4 separate regions of the Homo sapiens genome follow, and all the other regions are linked to region 4. The links are contacts of gene promoters, found by promoter capture Hi-C in blood cells and fetal thymus (Javierre and others, 2016). All regions are on one chromosome and are shown on one strand. Each heading gives the region's core, a stretch centred on a gene start or on the middle of the fragment in contact. The rest is flanking DNA. Distances are from core to core; before and after follow the strand shown.

The links. Contacts are between HindIII fragments. The CHiCAGO score rates a contact against its expected background, and 5 or more counts as called.
Region 1: a contact is called between a fragment that was not itself captured here and the fragment with the promoter of DPYD-AS2 in region 4, in 1 of 17 cell types (endothelial precursors). The highest score is 7.4, in endothelial precursors.
Region 2: a fragment that was not itself captured here is called in contact with the fragment with the promoter of DPYD-AS2 in region 4 in 1 of 17 cell types (megakaryocytes); the score reaches 5.2 in megakaryocytes.
Region 3: a fragment that was not itself captured here is called in contact with the fragment with the promoter of DPYD-AS2 in region 4 in 5 of 17 cell types (endothelial precursors, M2 macrophages, M0 macrophages and 2 more); the score reaches 9.4 in endothelial precursors.

The regions. Positions count from the first base shown.
Region 1 is chr1:97,144,047-97,146,746 of GRCh38, reverse strand. The region is part of intron 20 of DPYD (dihydropyrimidine dehydrogenase); the gene reads left to right. All of the region lies in intron 1 of DPYD-AS1 (DPYD antisense RNA 1), which reads right to left. Among named protein-coding and RNA genes, the nearest start is that of DPYD-AS1, 49 kb to the right of the region's middle. RefSeq lists an enhancer at 562-1,812. The HindIII fragment of the contact is 1,543 bases long and covers 591-2,133 here.
Region 2 is chr1:96,962,750-96,965,449 of GRCh38, reverse strand. No RefSeq gene overlaps it. Among named protein-coding and RNA genes, the nearest start is that of DPYD-AS1, 130 kb to the left of the region's middle. The HindIII fragment of the contact is 2,609 bases long and covers 81-2,689 here.
Region 3 is chr1:98,466,619-98,469,318 of GRCh38, reverse strand. No RefSeq gene overlaps it. Among named protein-coding and RNA genes, the nearest start is that of SNX7-DT, 190 kb to the left of the region's middle. The HindIII fragment of the contact is 865 bases long and covers 959-1,823 here.
Region 4 is chr1:97,795,563-97,798,262 of GRCh38, reverse strand. It overlaps DPYD-AS2 (DPYD antisense RNA 2), which reads right to left and starts at 1,342. Exons shown (of 3, transcript NR_046591.1): 1 at 1,191-1,342; 2 at 968-1,048; 3 at 212-795. The region is part of intron 3 of DPYD (dihydropyrimidine dehydrogenase); the gene reads left to right. The HindIII fragment of the contact is 2,382 bases long and covers 1,314-2,700 here.

The DNA.
Region 1 (2,700 bases), core at 113-2,612, 650 kb after region 4:
GCAGCCCCAATTATAAATACCATATGGACCATACTTTTATATGTCTCTGTCTCACATCATGCCTCCTGATCACACACACAAAAAAGGTTCCGTAAGGTTTAAAAAATGGCTAGAAAAGAATGGAAGAGTATTCTCCGTATTCTTAGATTTAACAATCATTTTATTTCCATCCAGACCTTATGGAAAGTCCATTGGCTGAAAACAGAACAGACAAACAAACAAACAAATAACCCTGAATGTTTCATAGAGACTGCCCAGAATAACAGGATGTATTGTATGGCCTTTGGACATGGTGTGCTTCCTTTACATTTGCCAATTCAAGAGCTTATGGTTGGGATGATCATATAGGCCAGTTTGTCTCTGACAGTCTTGCTTTTTGTGCCTGTAATTATCGATAATATCTTCCCTTCACTCTCAAAAGAGTTCTGGTTTAGATGAGAAAGTATATGGTCACTCTCCCTAAGGACCATTTTTATGGGCAAGTGAAAATACTCTCTCTACTTGTCAACATTGTATTAGTTTTCTTATACAAACTATTAATATTATAGAACTGGGATAGATTAGCATCTCACCCATTTCTTCCCAAAGCTTTAGGTTCATCTAAAAAGCAAATAAATCAACAGACAGACAAAAAAGCAAAAATAAACAAACAGAAAAACAAACAACAAAACAAGTCCCAAAGGCTAAGCCATTTGAAGTAGAAAAGGATAAAACATAAGGCTTAGGATCATTGGGAGAGATATTTTTTTCTCCTCCTTTTTCCCTTTTCTCTCCCAGGAATTCTTCAGTAGACTCAATTGAAGCCTTGAGTTTGAGGTTTTGTATTCTCAGATGGTAAGCACACCTATTAAAAAAGCAATGTATTCATGTTAACTCCCTGGCACCAGCAGGGCCTGTGTATTCACTGCTAGCAGTGGACACCATGCCAGGAGAACCTGACTCCTGGTGCAAAAGGATTAGGAAAAAAAAAAAAGTCAAACAATGCCAAAAAAAAAAAAAAAAACCCACACAATTCTTTTCTGTACTCTGTGGTTTGTTTTACTTAGGAAAACGGCCTGGTTATACCCTGCAGCACGCATTCATTACAGTGATCTTTGACTGGCAGATGCAGAGTAATAGGATGCATATTTTAGTGCTTATTATAATACCCTGTCCAAAAACAACTTGACAAATTTGTGATTTCGACAATATCTCATTTTGCTGGCTGCAGTGCTCTGTGATTGTCTGGCCCACGTGGCTTCCAGATTATGCATACCACCAATACTTCTCATTAAAATGGCCACAGTTCACCAGTTTCGGTAGCTTGGAACGAACTTGGAATGAATTATTATACAACAAAGAGGCTGCTGTCATGCAGAACAAAAGACAAGCAAAAGAGAGCTTTGGCTTAATGAGGCTAAGTGAGTGTCTCCCCTGCATCACAGCTACTTGACGGCCTTTGAGCATGGATTTTTTTTCTCCACAGGCCAAAACCTTTGGTCTATTATTTTGTGTTTATGCACCTTGAGGCTAATATACATTTTAATATGCTGCACATGGAGAAAAAAAATCAACCATTAGATTAGAACATGTGCACTCCCTGTTAAATTAATGACAACCGAACATAGAGATAAATTTAGGTTTTCATATTTAATTATAGCACACTGCAGTACGTTTAGCAAGGATAAATTGCACTATTATTATGCTTCATTTTTTTTGACATCTTCTCCTATTAGTAGTGCACACTTGCCCCAGCACCACCACCACCATCACCCTGTGGCCATGCTAACATCTCTGCATATCTTCCTTTTCTCCACATCACACAATCTCAGCCACCACGTTGAAAGGTATACTGTTTTATTTGCAAGATTTAGTGAGAGAACTGATGCCATTTTGGCAGTTCTGTGTGCATAAGAAAGTGATTTGTAAGAAAAAAATAAATCAGCTAAGAATAATTGTTATCACTCTTCCTTGCTGCATCAGATTATAGTGATGGGATCAAGTTCACTGCTTTTCTGATCAACCAAAAGCACAAAGCACAGCATGTGACTCTGAATAGTTGGTGTTTCATTATGACTCAGATGACCTGTGTATAAAGAAGGAGTCATAACAATCCCAAGAAAAATTCCAACAACCCTGTCACTTTTTGAAGCTTTTCTCTGTTGATTTTAATCTATTTATTGTAGAAATGGGAACACTTCAAGTAGTGAAAGTTACAGGGTAATAAAGATGGTCTTTGGGGAAAAAATTTAGCAAAGTTGATAGTAGAGATTATGAATATTGCTGTTCATTCTTTCCAGACCACCAAAGCAGGAACAGATTGTTAATATAACTGAAATGTCAAAATGAACTTTTCGTGTAGAATGACCAGAGAACTTGTAGTTCTTTCCATTTGGGGACTGTAATTTTACCTTCCATTAATTGAGTATATTTGTTTCATGTTACATCTGAGCTTATAGTTTAGCTTGCTTCATACACCAATTAATAGAGTTCCAGATGGTTGCCCAGAATGTAAGAGATTCTTCTTCTATCTTTGCGTAAAGCTGAAAGAAAGGCATTTGCCTATGTCTCTGCATTAAGGAAGCGTACCCATTTGTTGTCTTTTTGCTTTAAAAAGTCACTTGAATCAGCAAATGTCTTAAAATCAGAGAATACTTTTTCAGGATCTGAGCATTGAAATCCAGTTCTGGGGTTTTCCTGAGACTTATCCTTTATTTGATA
Region 2 (2,700 bases), core at 136-2,635, 830 kb after region 4:
AACATCTGCTAAATGGTCTCATAAGTGTCAGCACCTTCAATGTCACTTGCTTTCTATAAATAGCTAACATGCCTGAAGCTTCTCAAACATCACTTACTTTGTACCTGGAGGTTTGTTTTCCCTCTGTGTTGGAACAGATTTTTTTTTTAATGTATAGGCAACCCTAACACCATTGTTCTATTTTTCATACTTGGAGCTCTTCTTGCCTTTTGTCATATCTGATATTGTTTTAATATGTGGAAATCAGACAAAAATGTCAAAAGAAGAAGAAAACACCAGCAGAGATGTACTATAAATTGAAATATTTTATATCTACAGTAAAAAAAAAACCTTTAATTTTAAAAATGCCAGAAATGATTCCATCAGTATGAAAATAAAGATGTCATGACTAAATAGGAATTTTCAGTCTCTTAGCTGTCAATAATTAATAGATTATTTACACTGGCACACTTACATTTCCCAGCTTTCTGGATTCCATTTACACTTTGATCCTTTGCTCAGCAGCAAATTTAGCATCATTGTGACCTTCCTCTGCCCAACACCATCCGCCCATCAGACAGGGAGAGAGCATCATCTGATATGTGCATTTATTAAGGCAGCAAGCTCCAAATATTGGAAAAATGACAAATGCCAGTGTTTCCTATAATAAACTGGAAAAGAAACAGATTGTTCTTAAGGAAAAATCAATTAGCAAACCCTCTCTACAATGCTTTTCTTAGGAGACAAGATGTTTGCATCCTATGGTGAAGTATGGCTCTTAAAAGATTGTTTCTGATTAAAATCCTGCAGAATTGATAGCACTTTTGCAATGGTTATATAATTTCTTCATATAGAGGAAATCTTAATGTTAAAGATTCACGATGTCTGCTTAATTGTATTGCAAACAATGGTTTAAAATAATTGAAGTATCATTAACACCCTGATCTTAGAAAAGCCTAGATTATGATGAAAAAATGTACATTTAATTAAGTTTATATTTTAAAAAAGAAAATGAAAACTTATTTAAAAATTATGCCCAAGAAACATATTGTGAAAGTCCATACATCATATTAATGGTCAGAAAAAGCGTTATGAAACCATGGAATCTTAAAAATGTATAGTAATCAATGTGATAATATTTGGTGTAGATGCAAAAGACTATTAGTGTGGAAAATCATTTTGAAGCTGATTTTTCCTTTGATGTTGATTCAGGTTTGCATATTAAAAGATTTTGAACTAGGCCAAAATGATGTGGAGCTCCAATATGCAGTAAAGATATAAAGAAGAGTGAAAAATACACACTGTAGCTGCTATGTAAACAAGATGTCAAATATTATTTGTGGATTTCCTTACTAGAAAATGGTTGTGCAGATAATGTGTCAACATTTGCATTAATGATAGCACTGTTAATAATGAAACTGTGCAGGATGAAGCTCTTGGTACCATGTTTCAGCTTGGAATGTATTAGGGGAGGGAGAGGTGTATTTCACCTTTCTAAAAACAAAGACTTCAATATTAAGAATATATTACAAGTACAGTCTTCATGGTGAGTATGCAAATATCATCCTGCTTTCCCATGGCCTCTTTTTAGGCCATATTCATTCAGAATCAAAAAGAGAACAAGGGTTTTTTTTTAAGGTTATATGAGATTGAAGTGACACCTATACTGCTTTTGTGTCGATTTGGAAATTCTAAGCTCTTTTCAAGTGCTCCCCGTTGACCAGTCAGCAGGCCAAAGCTGCTTTTACCTCCCTTGGAAGGCTCCATAGACAAAGACAACCTTTTTTCAGCCAGTGTAGATCTGGTTTTATTGTTACTGTCTCACTCTATGGCATCTAACCAACAGCTAAGATAACTAAAATCTCTAGAATTTATGGAGGGCTTTTATTTCAACGAAAGTACTTTTATATCTATTTTTATTAAAACATGAAAACTTAGGGCTCAAAAGAAATTCAAGTTCCCTGGCCCATTTTTCACCTAGAGGTTCACTCTCATTTGATACGATTCTAAAATGCTGAAAATACACTTTGCCTAGGAAATGAAGGGTTAGAAATGAACCATTTCCAAGACCCCTTATCACTACGATGTTTTCTTTCTATGATTCTTCTTATGTAAGCCTCCAAATGAGATATTCCAAAAAGAACTTTGAGAAATCTCTGGGGTTTTCTTAGCAGACTACACTAATGGAAAGTTTTTCCATTAATCTATCTTCTGTTCCTTGCCCAGAATTTTATAAATGTGTTCAATCACCATATTAATTACAAAGCCACATGTGGGTGTCTAGAACATTCCAGACTCGAAAAGTATTTTCTTCCACCTGAGTGTAATCATGACATGAGCACCTGATCTCGTTTACTTTTCTCTCCAGAGCTGTGTACTTGTCCTCTTTCCAGCCTGACTGTGACTCACAGAGGGAAGAAGAACAAGGCAGGTTTTTCTAGTCCAGGATTTTTTTTCTGCTGTGAGTACGTATTTTTATTCATTGTGGTAGGTATTCAGTACCCCAGCAAATTACATCCTTCATGCAATACCACAGCATAGCAATTTCCTTTGCAAAATTCCTTGGCAGGAAATACTACCAAATGCTAACTTTGTCCCAGAAATAACTGCATATTGGACCATATGAAAGATTCTACACAATATAATTTAACTATGCTTAAAGAAATGGTGATGCCAGGAAAATCGCAAAGTATGAATGAAATTTGAAGCTTAGGATAACTT
Region 3 (2,700 bases), core at 142-2,641, 670 kb before region 4:
TGTTTAGAAAAACTGAAACATACAACTAGAACTCGATACTTAAAAAACAGAAACTTTGTACCTATTAATAGCTTTAATATTCCTTTTCCTCCCACTTTCTCTGTAACAAAAAGAACCCTAAAACAACACTTTACCTTTGAGTAGTTTCAAAATGCAAAGCAAGGGCATGGGCCTGTAGGTGTTAATCGCTGCTTAGTTGATGTGAGAAAATTCACACGATATTATACCGGGGTTTTAAAAATGAGTGTCCATATTTATTTTGATGAAATGCTAAAAAGCTTTATTTTTCATCTTTCCAGTGAATGCAATATTTCCTTATTTTTTCAATAAAAAATGCAGGGAATCAGCAACATTATTAAATAGATTGCAGTGCCCATTATATATCTCCAGCATTTGATTTGTTGGGGAAAAATTAAAGCTAACTGGCTTTGATGACACAGAAATTTAATACTCAAAATGAATGACATTTAATGTTTTTATAAGAAAAGATGCCTTTTTAAAAAATGTGTTTCAAAGGAGATATCTCTTCTACACAAATATACAAAAAAGGTACTAGAAAAATGGCAAAGCTGTGGAGGTGAGACCACAGAACTCCCATATACTTCCTTTGTTTTGTCATTGTTGATGTAGCCACTAGTCATTTAGATTTAAAGACTGGAACTCTGCTCAATAATCTTCCAGCTCCAACTTTCTCTTCCTAATGCCATACATATACTGACATCTACCTTTTATAGTAATTTTGTTATTTTCTTTTGTTCTTCTTTGCCTTCTTAAGAAATGTGATCTTAAAATTATTTTTTTCTGCAGACACAAGTTCTCAGTTCCTTTACTATTCTGGTAAAATATGAATTGAAATGATGGCCTGGACTAGAAATAATTATTTAAATTGCTTTAGTTTCAGAGAATTGAAAAAGATAAAGCATATTTTCATTTAAGGATAGTTCATTTTAAATAAGCTTCTTCAGGAATCTTAGTTACAACTTGCCTGACCAGTGTCCACTAGATGACACTGTTGTATAAGCACAATAATGAGTGGTGATCGCTTTGACAATAACTAATTTATCATATATATATATATTTAGATATTGTCAGCGTCTCTCTTTCTAGATGAAACTGGCTTAGCATTTTTAATTGGATATGGCTGATAGCTACAACTTCACATCATTTATGGTAAAGTTATCCTAAGAGGTTAAAATGCAATGTAAAAAAAGAAGCATGTATTTCACAGCATTCATACTTTTGCAAAAGAAAAATCTTTTCGAAATCTATATATTTCACAGTTAAAATAGATTTCATTATGAATTTTAAATTGTGCCATCTTAAATCGAGTGACAATGATTGTACTGACAACGTTGGTTATCAAGTAGTATTTTGTCAGTAATATATATATTTTTTTCTTTCTCTCTCCCCTTCCTGGCGTCCTCCCTCCCTTCTTGTCTTTTCAGTTCTCTCTTTCTTCTCTCCTTGATTTTGGATTGAGAGCCGTTCTAGTGCAGTGCCAAAATCAGGGGAAGAATCAATTGCCTTAAGCTAACAGACCCTGTGCCGCATTGTTGCCAAGCTGGGAAACTTTAGCCTGGAAAACTCACAGAAAAACAGACACAATCATGATGTGCCTGTACACATGGAGCCATATAAGGAAACTTTGACTACTTGGAACTGTATACTACAGATTTCTAGACATAGACATTTTGAGATAAAATCTACCACTTGGAAATATCATGTAGATTATTGAGATTTTCCTCAATAATAGTATTCCTTTGTAGGATTTCTTCCTTTCTCATTCTTCTATTAATGCTCAAAAATCACTGTTAAATTAAGCTTGTTTGCTGTTATTTCAATTTAAAAAGAACAGTGAAGTAAAAACATCCATGCTCCCTTCTATAGATTACATACACTAATCTCATGCTGTTTACCTGAAAAATCTTGAGGAGGAGCCAAGCCTAAAAGAGAATTACTCTAAGCACAAGGGGTGATTGAAATGTTTTATGGCATGTGGCATATCTCAGAGGGAAGTGACAGACATGTCACCTTATTTTTTATTTTTTAAGCCAGACATGCTAATGCTAGAGAAGTGGAGATGCCTTATACTTCAGTGAGAAGCCCACTGCACACAGGAATATCTACACCCCAGCAGAATATGCCACACACTTTTATTGCTGAGTTTTTGCTAGACAATGTTTTGTCAATACAACTCACAAACAGAACTCTCAGATCATGCCATTGTATTTATGGCAAGGTACAGAAAAGAGTAGAAAAGGGATTCGCATCCTCAAATTTGTTTTCAAAAACATGGACATCACGTTTAAACACCTGAACAGTCTCTTCATGGGCGGAAGGTGGGAATTCAGATCAGATGAACTTTGCATATACTTAGTTTCTCTTTTTTCATATCTCACAGTCTCTGCTTTCTTCTGCCTTCTTCTTCTTCTTTCCTCCTCCTCCTCCTCCTCCTTCTTCTTCTTCCTTCTCCTCCTCCTTATCTCTCTCTGTGTGTGTGTGTGTGTGTGTGTGTGCATGTGCGTGTGCTTATTTACCAAAAGGAAACTTTAACTGAAAGCTAAAATGTTGCAGATAGAAGAAATTTTATATGCCAGTTCTCTCGTTCTGGGCATACCATATAATCCAATTGAGTCTTAAATTTCCCAGTACCTAATTTTGCATAGGTTGTTATGAAGATTAAGTGAGATCATAATATCT
Region 4 (2,700 bases), core at 93-2,592:
AGACTATCCAGACATATGAATTAGGAGAATAATTCTGAAGAAATAGATGACACAGCAAAGGACTCTACATATAGGTTAGGACCATATTCTTGTTGGGAAGATGGCCAAAAAAGAATTTTGAGGATATTTTTTCAATTATTTAACAAATATTGAAAATCTATTATGTTCCACTTGGAAAAGAAAGAATTGGTGGGTAGGAGCCAACTAAGATCCAATAAACTTTTGTCTGTGACTTAACTCTTCTGAAGTTGTCAGAACGTTATGTTCCCCAGAGTTAGTTGTTTTGGTTGACAGAAATCTATGATATGCCAAATAAAGACTTTCTAGTTACTATTAACTTTGCCTTGCATGTAGAAAGAAAATATTACTCATCAGAACTTATCATAAATCTTAGGATGCAGTCATATCCCTACATATATTTTGATTATTTCAAAATCAAATATATACTTTAAAAAAGGCTTACTATGTTTTGAAGGGTTCATATTTTTTTTCTGAAAAATGGCAAAATAGTGCTGGCCTCATGATGCTTGGTTTAGTACAGGAACATACATACTAATATAAACAGTATGCCCAGCCAATTCATTATCATCCTGGAACTATATTCAGCCTGGCTACTATCATGAAAGATGAGTAGAAGCAGTGAGCTGGCAAAGCTGGCCTCTGCCTCTGGTTGTTAAGCTGTTGGCAGCTCAGGATGCATGACCTTTCAAATATACGCTTCTAATTCAGGACTTCTTATGATGTCATGTAGTTATGTTCTTCCCTTTTAGTGTATTCTCTCTTCAAAATTCTGTGCTGAAAAAAGGAAAAAAAAGAAATGTAAGCTACTATCCTTTTGGCCAAATGTTGAACTTTTCCTTCTGTAACTTTGTAGGTAGGAGACAGCAGAGTAACTGATCTTCCTACTGAAATGAATTTCCTTGAGCAAAATTATTTCAAAAAATATGTCTGGTATCTTTGTTTATACCTCAGGGTTGCCGAGCTGTCAGCTGCATGCCTGCTTTTCATTGAAGCATATGTATATTTGTGTATATATGTGTTTGTATGGCTTCCAATAGCATAGTAATAATTTCAGGGGAGGAAATAGAAAAGAAAGCAAGATAAATGTATTACATTTTTGTATTTCCTCCTTGCATTTTTTTAAAGATAAGACTCTGTTGTAAAATATAAACTGGCAATTTGATCATTACTTGTTATTCATTTGAACTAGTTCAGTCAACAGATAATGGACAGTGAACAGAGAGACCTCTTTTGGTAAGCCATGTAGTTTTTCCAGGGGTGATTGTTATGCTATGTGTATTTAGATAGAAGCTTTTCCCTGTGTAATCAGCTTGCTGCTGCCCATTTTACTGCCAAACATTCCTTCTCTATGGTAGCATAATACTGTTACCAAGGGAACAGCTTATGGCCGACACATACAGTAGTGCCACAAATTAATTTCACAGTTATCAGGATATAAGGTGATAACAGTAACGTGAGCTACTGTGAAATTACCATTGTTCCCACAGAGTTAGTGTAATTATTACTTTTGTGGTAACTAAGCAAATAATTCACATCACTACTCCTGGATGTTTGTTCTCTCTTCTCTGTCTCACCCTCCTTCTTTGTCTTTCCCTTTCCTTCCTATATTTTCCTCTTTTGTTGATTCAGACTCTCTCCCTGAGTCTCTTTTCACAATTACCAATTAATGTAGAGTATTTTTTATATTGGCATTAAGAAAGAGTTTTATTGAAGTGGGGTGAAGGCATCTCATATATGTAACTCATGGGCATAATTAGGATGTTCACTTCTATCAAAGATATAAAGGACTAAAACAGTGTATTGAGAGGATACATTCAATTTGTGATCAATGTAGACTCAGAGATTCCAGTTTTATTTTCATAGAATGTTAACTTCATGTGTTGAATAGAAGGATCAGTTTAATGTGATTAAAAGCAGTGGAGAAAAATTAACTTCCCTAATTAGCTGTGTTGCTTAGGACAAGGAAAACAACTTAGCTTTTTAGTACTTACATCTATAAAATTGGGATAATAATAATGCCTACCTAACAGAATTGGTATGTGGATTAAAAGAGATATGTGTGAAAGTGAATTTTAAACTGTACAATAAAAGTTTTAAGCTATTATGATCATTGTCATATAAATGGGGATACATCTGTAAAATGGGGTTAAGTATATTCACCTAACAGAATTGGTATGTGGATGAAAAGAGATATGTGTACAAATGAATTTTCAGCTGTACAATACAAGTTTTAAGCTATTACCATCATTGTTATATTTTAATGGAGGCATCTTTTGATGATAGCCTACCCTCATTATCAGAAAATTTATAAGGATAATTCAAAATAACAGCAGTAACACAGGGAAGAACACTTTTTATTGCATTTTATTATAATAAAAAGAGTGTTTCATTATACCTAGGGCACAACAAAATGAGATGTTATCATTATAAAATAACAGTAATTTTAATAATGAAATTTTCCAGAGAATGAGTCATATTTTTTATTGTTTTTATTGAGTATATGTATATGTTAATTAAAATTTCAGCATTGAAATATAAAATAATATAGGAGTGTGTATAGTATGTCCATTATTTTTTAAAAAGCTACAATGGTGAGTACATGTGAAATATGAGTTGTTCACTATGTCAAAAAGTGAAGTTGCTAAGACAAAGGTAAAATTATAGAAATGAGTTTATGTA